Regions from separate parts of the Homo sapiens genome. Here region 1 is linked to region 2. Evidence: promoter capture Hi-C in human tissues and cell types (Jung and others, 2019). All regions are on one chromosome and are shown on one strand. The core of a region is centred on a gene start or on the middle of the fragment in contact, and the rest is flanking DNA. Distances in the headings are between cores, read along the strand shown. Region 1 has its middle 150 kb from the start of GALNT15. Region 2 holds the start of GALNT15 (polypeptide N-acetylgalactosaminyltransferase 15).

Region 1 (3,246 bases), core at 255-2,754, 150 kb after region 2:
CCATATGGAGGAACCCAAGAACGCAGAAGCAGCAGAGATGTGCATGAGGCCAAACTTAGAGCTGAGCACAGCCACTAGCTGAATGCAGCCAAATGAATGATCCCAGCTGACATCACCTGGAGCAGAAAGACCACCCAGCCAAGCCCTGAATTTGTGACCTACAGAATTGTAAGCTGATTAAATGGATTCTAAAGTCCTGACCCATGGAATCGCAGGCAAATTAAACGGTTGTTGTCTTAACCAAATAAGTTTGGGGTAATTTATTATGCAATAGATAACTACTGCAGGTTGTTACAGTGTTTAGTGATAGAGGACCTTATGGAAACTAATCTCAATAATGACTCATAGCCCCCTTAGATAAATTAAAAATAAAATCATCAGCAGTCTGAGTGAGAAGTAGCAGAGAGGGAATTCAGAGACGATGACTCAATTAGTCTGTCTCTTAAAAACAGGAGTTTTCTATTTGGTTTCCCAGGGCTCCCTGTTATAAAGGGGGCACTGGCTTTATTAATAGAGCAGCTCACATGAATAAGCCAATGTTTCTAAATTCCTTCTCTTCAACTGCACCTCCCTCTCCCCGTCTCCACCACCACCACCACCAATTCCTTGCTTGAGAGTTATTCTGTAAGTTTTGACACATGAATATAGTATCATGCAAACAAAAGGGCATTTTCAAGACAATGTATTTAACTGAAAAACCACATTTTAGAGTTTTCACGTGGTCTTCTTGACCTTGATGAAAAAGTAAATGCAGGAAAATTCCAATGCTATCTATCTACTTGGCTCTGCAGTGAACTCCCTGGAACTTTCTCCCCTGAGTCCCACTGTCAATGAAAGGGAAGCAAGGATTAGCTGATGAATGTGGCTTCTAGCATGGAGGAAACTGATGTCTACTCCAAAATGCCTCAATAATGTTTGTGACTTAGAGTCAGCCTCAGATTCTTTGTCTTAAATGGAATATACTTCATTAAACAAATATTTATTGACTTCCTATTATATGCCATGCACTATTCTAGACAAAATAGGCACAAAAGACAAAAATCTATGTCCTCTTACTGCTTACATTTCTACTTGGGAGGGACAAACTATAAATATGATAAATATATAAATTATATGTTATGCTAGAAGATGATGCATTCTATGGAAATAATAGAACAGGATGACGAGGAACAGCAATAGAGAGGAAGAAGGCAGTTTGCAGCACTGCATAGTACCATACATGCCAGGGTGGACCTCGCTGAGAAGGTGATGTTTGCACAGATATGAAGGAGGTGAGCGAGTGAGCCACATGGATATCGGGGGGAGAGTGTCTTTGGCAGATAAACAATGAGGGGAAAGGCCTTGAGGCGAGAGGTGCCTGATGAGTTCAAAGAACAACAAGATTATTGTGTCTGCTGAGGAATGAGGGAGGGAGTGAATAGTAGGAAATGAGATATATAAAGGGCTGGGGGGATAGGAGCTGATCATGTAGAGCCTTTAGCCATTGGAAGGCTTTGGCTTTACCTCTGGTGGAAGGGAGAGCCACTGGAGAGTTCTGAGCAAAAGAATGGCATTTTCTGATGTACCTTTTAACAGAATCCCTCTAGCCTCTGAATTAAGAATAGATTTGAGGCCGGGCGCAGTGGCTCACACCTGTAATCCTAGCACTTTGGGAGGCCAAGGCAGGCAGATCACAAGGTCAGGAGTTCAAGACCAGCCTGACCAATATGGTGAAACCCCATCTCCACTAAAAATACAAAAATTAGCCAGGCATGATGGTATGCACCTGTAATCCCAGCTACTCAGGAGGCTGAGGCAGGAGAATTGCAGGAGAATTGCTTGAACCCAGGAGGCGGAAGGTTGCAGTGAGCTGAGATCGCGCCACTGCACTCCAGCCTGAGCTAAAGAGCGAGGCTCAAAAAAAAAAAAAAAAAAAGATTTGCAGGAGGCCAGGACAAAAGCAGAGTCTAGTTCAACAGTCCAGGGAAGAGACAATGATCTAGGCTTGATTTCTTTTTCTTATTGTGGGCTCTCTCAAGTCAATGGCAAATAAAAATAAAACTTGAGGGAAAGGACAAGGGCAAGGTAAATTATTTTTCCTGTTTTGTTTGACATGTCTACCCTGTGCTAGGCTGTGGCTGGAGGCTGGACAGGTCCCAGCTGACCTTTCTTGGAGTTTATGACTGACGGGAGAGAGGTAGTGAGGGAGAAAAGACAACTGTTTGCTTGCTTCCAAGCTTGTTTGTTGGCAACTGCTCATCTTAGAAAAGTGGCTGGCCAGCTGAGGGAAATCTGATCCTTGGCTGGACGTATATTTTGGGGAGATGGGTGATTGTGCACTTTTTGAACAGGAAACTCAGCCAGCCAGTCAATAATGACTGGGTTTTAAAACTGAAAATACTTCCCGACTAGAGGACTGGTATCCAGTTCCCTCCAAAAGGATGTGGGGAGGAGCCTGCAGCCAGGGCACACAGGAGGATGCAAGGGCTGGAAGGAGAGTAAGTTCTCCTGGGCTTTTGATGTTCCACTGTCACTTCCCTCACATATGATGCATGGAAAATCCAGTGCCTGCCACATTCAAGGAATTATTCAATGAATGTTATAAAGGAAACAGGAAGGATTGGCCACTGTGCATCACCCAAGACACATGTCAAATACTGGGAATGATATGATTACCAGGTGACTCGTCTTGTTCCTCTAAACACATGGAACCCCCAGACAAATCTACTCCATCAAGGGCTTTTATGGGTTGTGGTATTGGAAATCAAAGCTTGCTGTATTTTATACAGACCTTTAGGAACCTTAAGAAGATTTAAATTTTAAAAGATGATGTATAGTACTGACCATTGTGCCTTTTCTAAGTATGTGACTTCCTCCTTTTCTTTTTTTTCTTCCCCACCCACTGCCTTCAAGACTCTCACTGTTTCTTTTAACCAACACCTTTGGGTACCTCCTATGTACCAAGCATGGAACTCAGCTCCAGATGTTCAGAACTGAGTAATTCAAAGCCCCTGCCCTTCAACTGTATTTGTTCTAGGAAGGAGAAGGAACTTCACAGAACCCTAATGCATTGTGAACAAGGGCTATGACAAAGAACCCCAAAGAAGGGATAGATTTGTCCCTGAATTGGGTCTTGGAGGGTGAGATAAATAGGGAAGTATATTCATGGCAGAGTAAATAACAGCTAATAGTTACAATTCGCTCTCCCTCTCAAAATGTGTGCATATGTATATATATTTATATAAATTATACTAATAGAATGTGTAC
Region 2 (3,314 bases), core at 656-3,155:
CAGCATCTCCCTGGGCACAGCTCTGCCCATCACCTACACTTCTCAGCTTACCTCCTGGGGCTGGGGCTGCCCTGGCAGGGTAAATTGCAGTCAGCACAGTATTCTGGCTCTCAGGCACTGGACCTGTTTCCTTAGTCTAGTGGCCCAAGGCAGGTGGCATGGAGTGGTGGGTCAGGCAGACTGGAGCTCACATGCCTGCATTCAAATCCTGACTTTGTTACCTACTAGCAGCGTGACTGGGAAAGCAACTTCACCTTGTTTTCATACCTATAGAATAAGCATGATGATACTACTAGCACCCATCTTGCAGAGCTGTGAGGACTTTCCAGGACTTTATGAGTTAATACATTAAAAGCTTGTAAAGTAAATCCAGACGCATGGGAAGAGCCCCCTAAATGTAAACTGCAATTGTTATTTTGATCCAAACTAAAAGCAAACACTAACAATAACCCTAAAATCAAAATGTAGTGGAGTCAGAGTGTTAGAACTGGCAAATGTCTGCTCTAACCTCCCTTCTGTGTTATAGAAATAAAGCCATTTGACCTAAAGACAGAAGAACTAGAACCCAGGACGGAGAAGAGAATGAACAAGCAAGAGTCCTCACTTTCTGCTTTCTAGGACAATGATTCTCACCTGAAGGGCTTGTTCATACAGACCACTGGACCCCACCCAGAGTTTCTTGTTTGGCAGGTCTGGGATGGGGTCTGAGAATCTGCATTTCTGAGAACCCACCAGTGCCCAGGGGCTGCTGACGCTGCTGGCCCAGGTACTGCATCTTGAAAAGCACTTGCTCTAAGTCAGGAGAGGCAGGCTACGGAAAGTTTGCATTCCCGAGTTTGCTACCACCCGATCATGCCCTGGGATCAGGGAAGGGAAAACAAGGGCCTTACTTACAGTGGGTGCCGCACCTCGGGCAGAGCCCTCTGGAGGGGGATGCGGGCACTGAGTGCCTCCTGGAGGCCACGTGGGTCCAGGCTGAACGGGGTCAACTCCTCTTCTTCAGACACCTCCCCGTCCTCATCAGCCCCCCAGTCCCTCTTTGGGGCTTCCTTATCCTGCCTCCTTGGCTGCTTGATGAGGCGGTAGCTCCCACCTCTCCTGCCCTGGCTCTGGTTCCTTCTGGCCTGGGGTAAGGCCACGGCCACCAGCAGCTGATCCTCCCGCAGTGAGATAAAGGGTGGCAGGCCCTCCAGAGGGCTGTACTCTTCACCCTCATCCTCAGCTTCCAGTACCCAATCCTGGGATTCCCCAAAGTCCAGGCGGTACCTGGCTTCAGGGCTGTGCTTGCTGGCTTGGGCTGTGACAGTCTGGTGCAGGGTGTGGTGGGGAGGGTGCAACATCGCCACCATCATCAGGACGCATCCCAGCATCAGGAGCAGCAGGAGGAACTGGAGTCTGCATGGTCTGTGCCTGTATCGCTTCCTTAGGAGCATGTTGCTAGAACTTGCCAAATGCAACAGGTCATGTTCAAGTTAGCTTTCTCCCGCTCCAGGCTCCTTCAAGCTTGCAGCAGAACCTGGGTTGCTTGTTCCACCTGGAAGTTTTTCTGCCAGTCACTTAACCTGGTCCTGACATTTGCCAACAGCGTGTGCAAGACCTGCTTCCACTTACAATCAGAAAACCACAGGACCCAAGTTTCACCCCAAGTCCTCTCTGAGTGGATTTCTTTAATTGCCTTCTGAAAGCCCATTCACAGGGACTTCAAATTGAATTGCTTCCCTCCCTTTACCCCGGTTTTCTCCTTGGGAAAAAAATAATGATTCCATTCTGCTCAGGTGTTTCTTTCCCCCTTTGTATAAATAGGTTGCTATGAGGTGTCTGGGATGAGCTGGTGGGTTCTCAGTCAAGCAGGGCTGACAGCCGTCCCTCTTTGGACGCTTCCAGTCAGGTCAGATCAACAGATGTAAAGCCGGCAGGCAGTGCCTGGTTTCCTTTCACACATAGCTCCACTCAGCCGAGAGCCCTCTGCCAGACACAACCCAGAGCCAAGCGTGCGCGTCACTCCTGGTCCTAATGCCCTCACTGTTCCCAGGCTTTGCACAACTCGGTGTGGTCACTGCTAGAGCCAAATCAAAACAGGAATATCCCAAGAGTTCAGAAGGAAAGACTAATACCCTCTGATTCAGAAAGGCTGTGTGTGTGGCATAGCTGCAAGGAGCTGCAGCTGTCTGTTTGCAACCTCAGCCTCCCATGGGGGATCAGGCAAACTAGGTTGGACTCTCCTTCCCTTCCTGGGGACCACTGTCCCTGGCCTCCTGAAAATGAGGGAGCTAAGGGAGATGATCTTGCAAGTCCCTTCTTCTCCCACAAGAGCAGCTGAATGCCTGCTCTGCCCTGGCCACCAAGGGGGACGCTGGAAGAGGAGTGGCATGCTCTTTCCCTCATAAAGCTTCCTTCATTTAACCAACACATAATTAATGAACACATGCTATGTGCCAAAATTGTTCTGGGAACTGGAAGTAGAGCAATGAATAACACAGACAAAAATGTGTGTCTCATGGAGCTTGCATTCTAGTGACAGATACAATTAAAACTATCCACTGGGTCAGATAGTGATGAGGATGAAGGCAAAAAAGCAGAGCAGGGATGGGGCTGGGGAGCATGGGCTGGGCTTGGAAATGGACATTGAGTGGTGGAGAAAGGTTTCATGGAAGAGTTACCATTTGTGTAAAGGAGAGGGCTGCACAGCTATTTGAGGTTGAGTGTTCGGGGCAGACAGAATGATAAATGTGAAGGTTCCAAGGCAAGAGTATGCTGGCATGTCTGAGGAACAGCCGGCATGGCTGAAGCAAAGAGAGCAGGGTGGAGCCTGATGGGAAGTGGAATAAGAGAGGCAAGGGGGCGGGGGGCAGGAGGACCATGCAGGACACCCCCTGGTTGCATTGAAGGAACTTTGGCTTTTCCTCTGAGTGAGAGGGGAGCCCTTAGAGGAGAGACACAATCTGACTTGGGTTTTAACTGGATCATTCTGGCTGCTGGGTTGAGACTAATCAGTGGGGGGCAAAAAGCAGGAGCAGGGAGACCAACCAAGAGGTTCTTGGCTTGCACTAAGTGGCATCGGTGGTGACAGGGGTCAGCTTGTGGATATACTTTAAGGAAGAACCTATAGGATTTGCTGATGAATTAATGACTAATGTGAGAGGAAGAGAAGAGTCAAGATGAGTTCAAATTTTTGTTCTGAGTAGTTGGAAGAATAGACTTGCCATTAACCAAGATGGGGAAGGAGAGAAGGTGGAAGGAGATGAATGCATGCCAGTGGCTTGATTTGGAACATGTGACATTCGAGATGTCCTCTAGACAGCTAAGAGGAGATG

Evidence for each region. Contacts are between HindIII fragments. The study calls those that stand out against the background at their distance.
Region 1: a contact is called between a fragment that was not itself captured here and the fragment with the promoter of GALNT15 in region 2, in 4 of the 25 tissues and cell types used here (aorta, hippocampus, pancreas and 1 more).

Annotation. Positions count from the first base shown.
Region 1 is chr3:16,025,987-16,029,232 of GRCh38, reverse strand. No RefSeq gene overlaps it. Among named protein-coding and RNA genes, the nearest start is that of GALNT15, 150 kb to the left of the region's middle. The HindIII fragment of the contact is 5,694 bases long and covers 1-3,246 here.
Region 2 is chr3:16,173,271-16,176,584 of GRCh38, reverse strand. GALNT15 (polypeptide N-acetylgalactosaminyltransferase 15) reads right to left here and starts at 1,905. Exons shown (of 10, transcript NM_054110.5): 1 at 895-1,905. The coding sequence starts at 1,433. The HindIII fragment of the contact is 4,561 bases long and covers 930-3,314 here.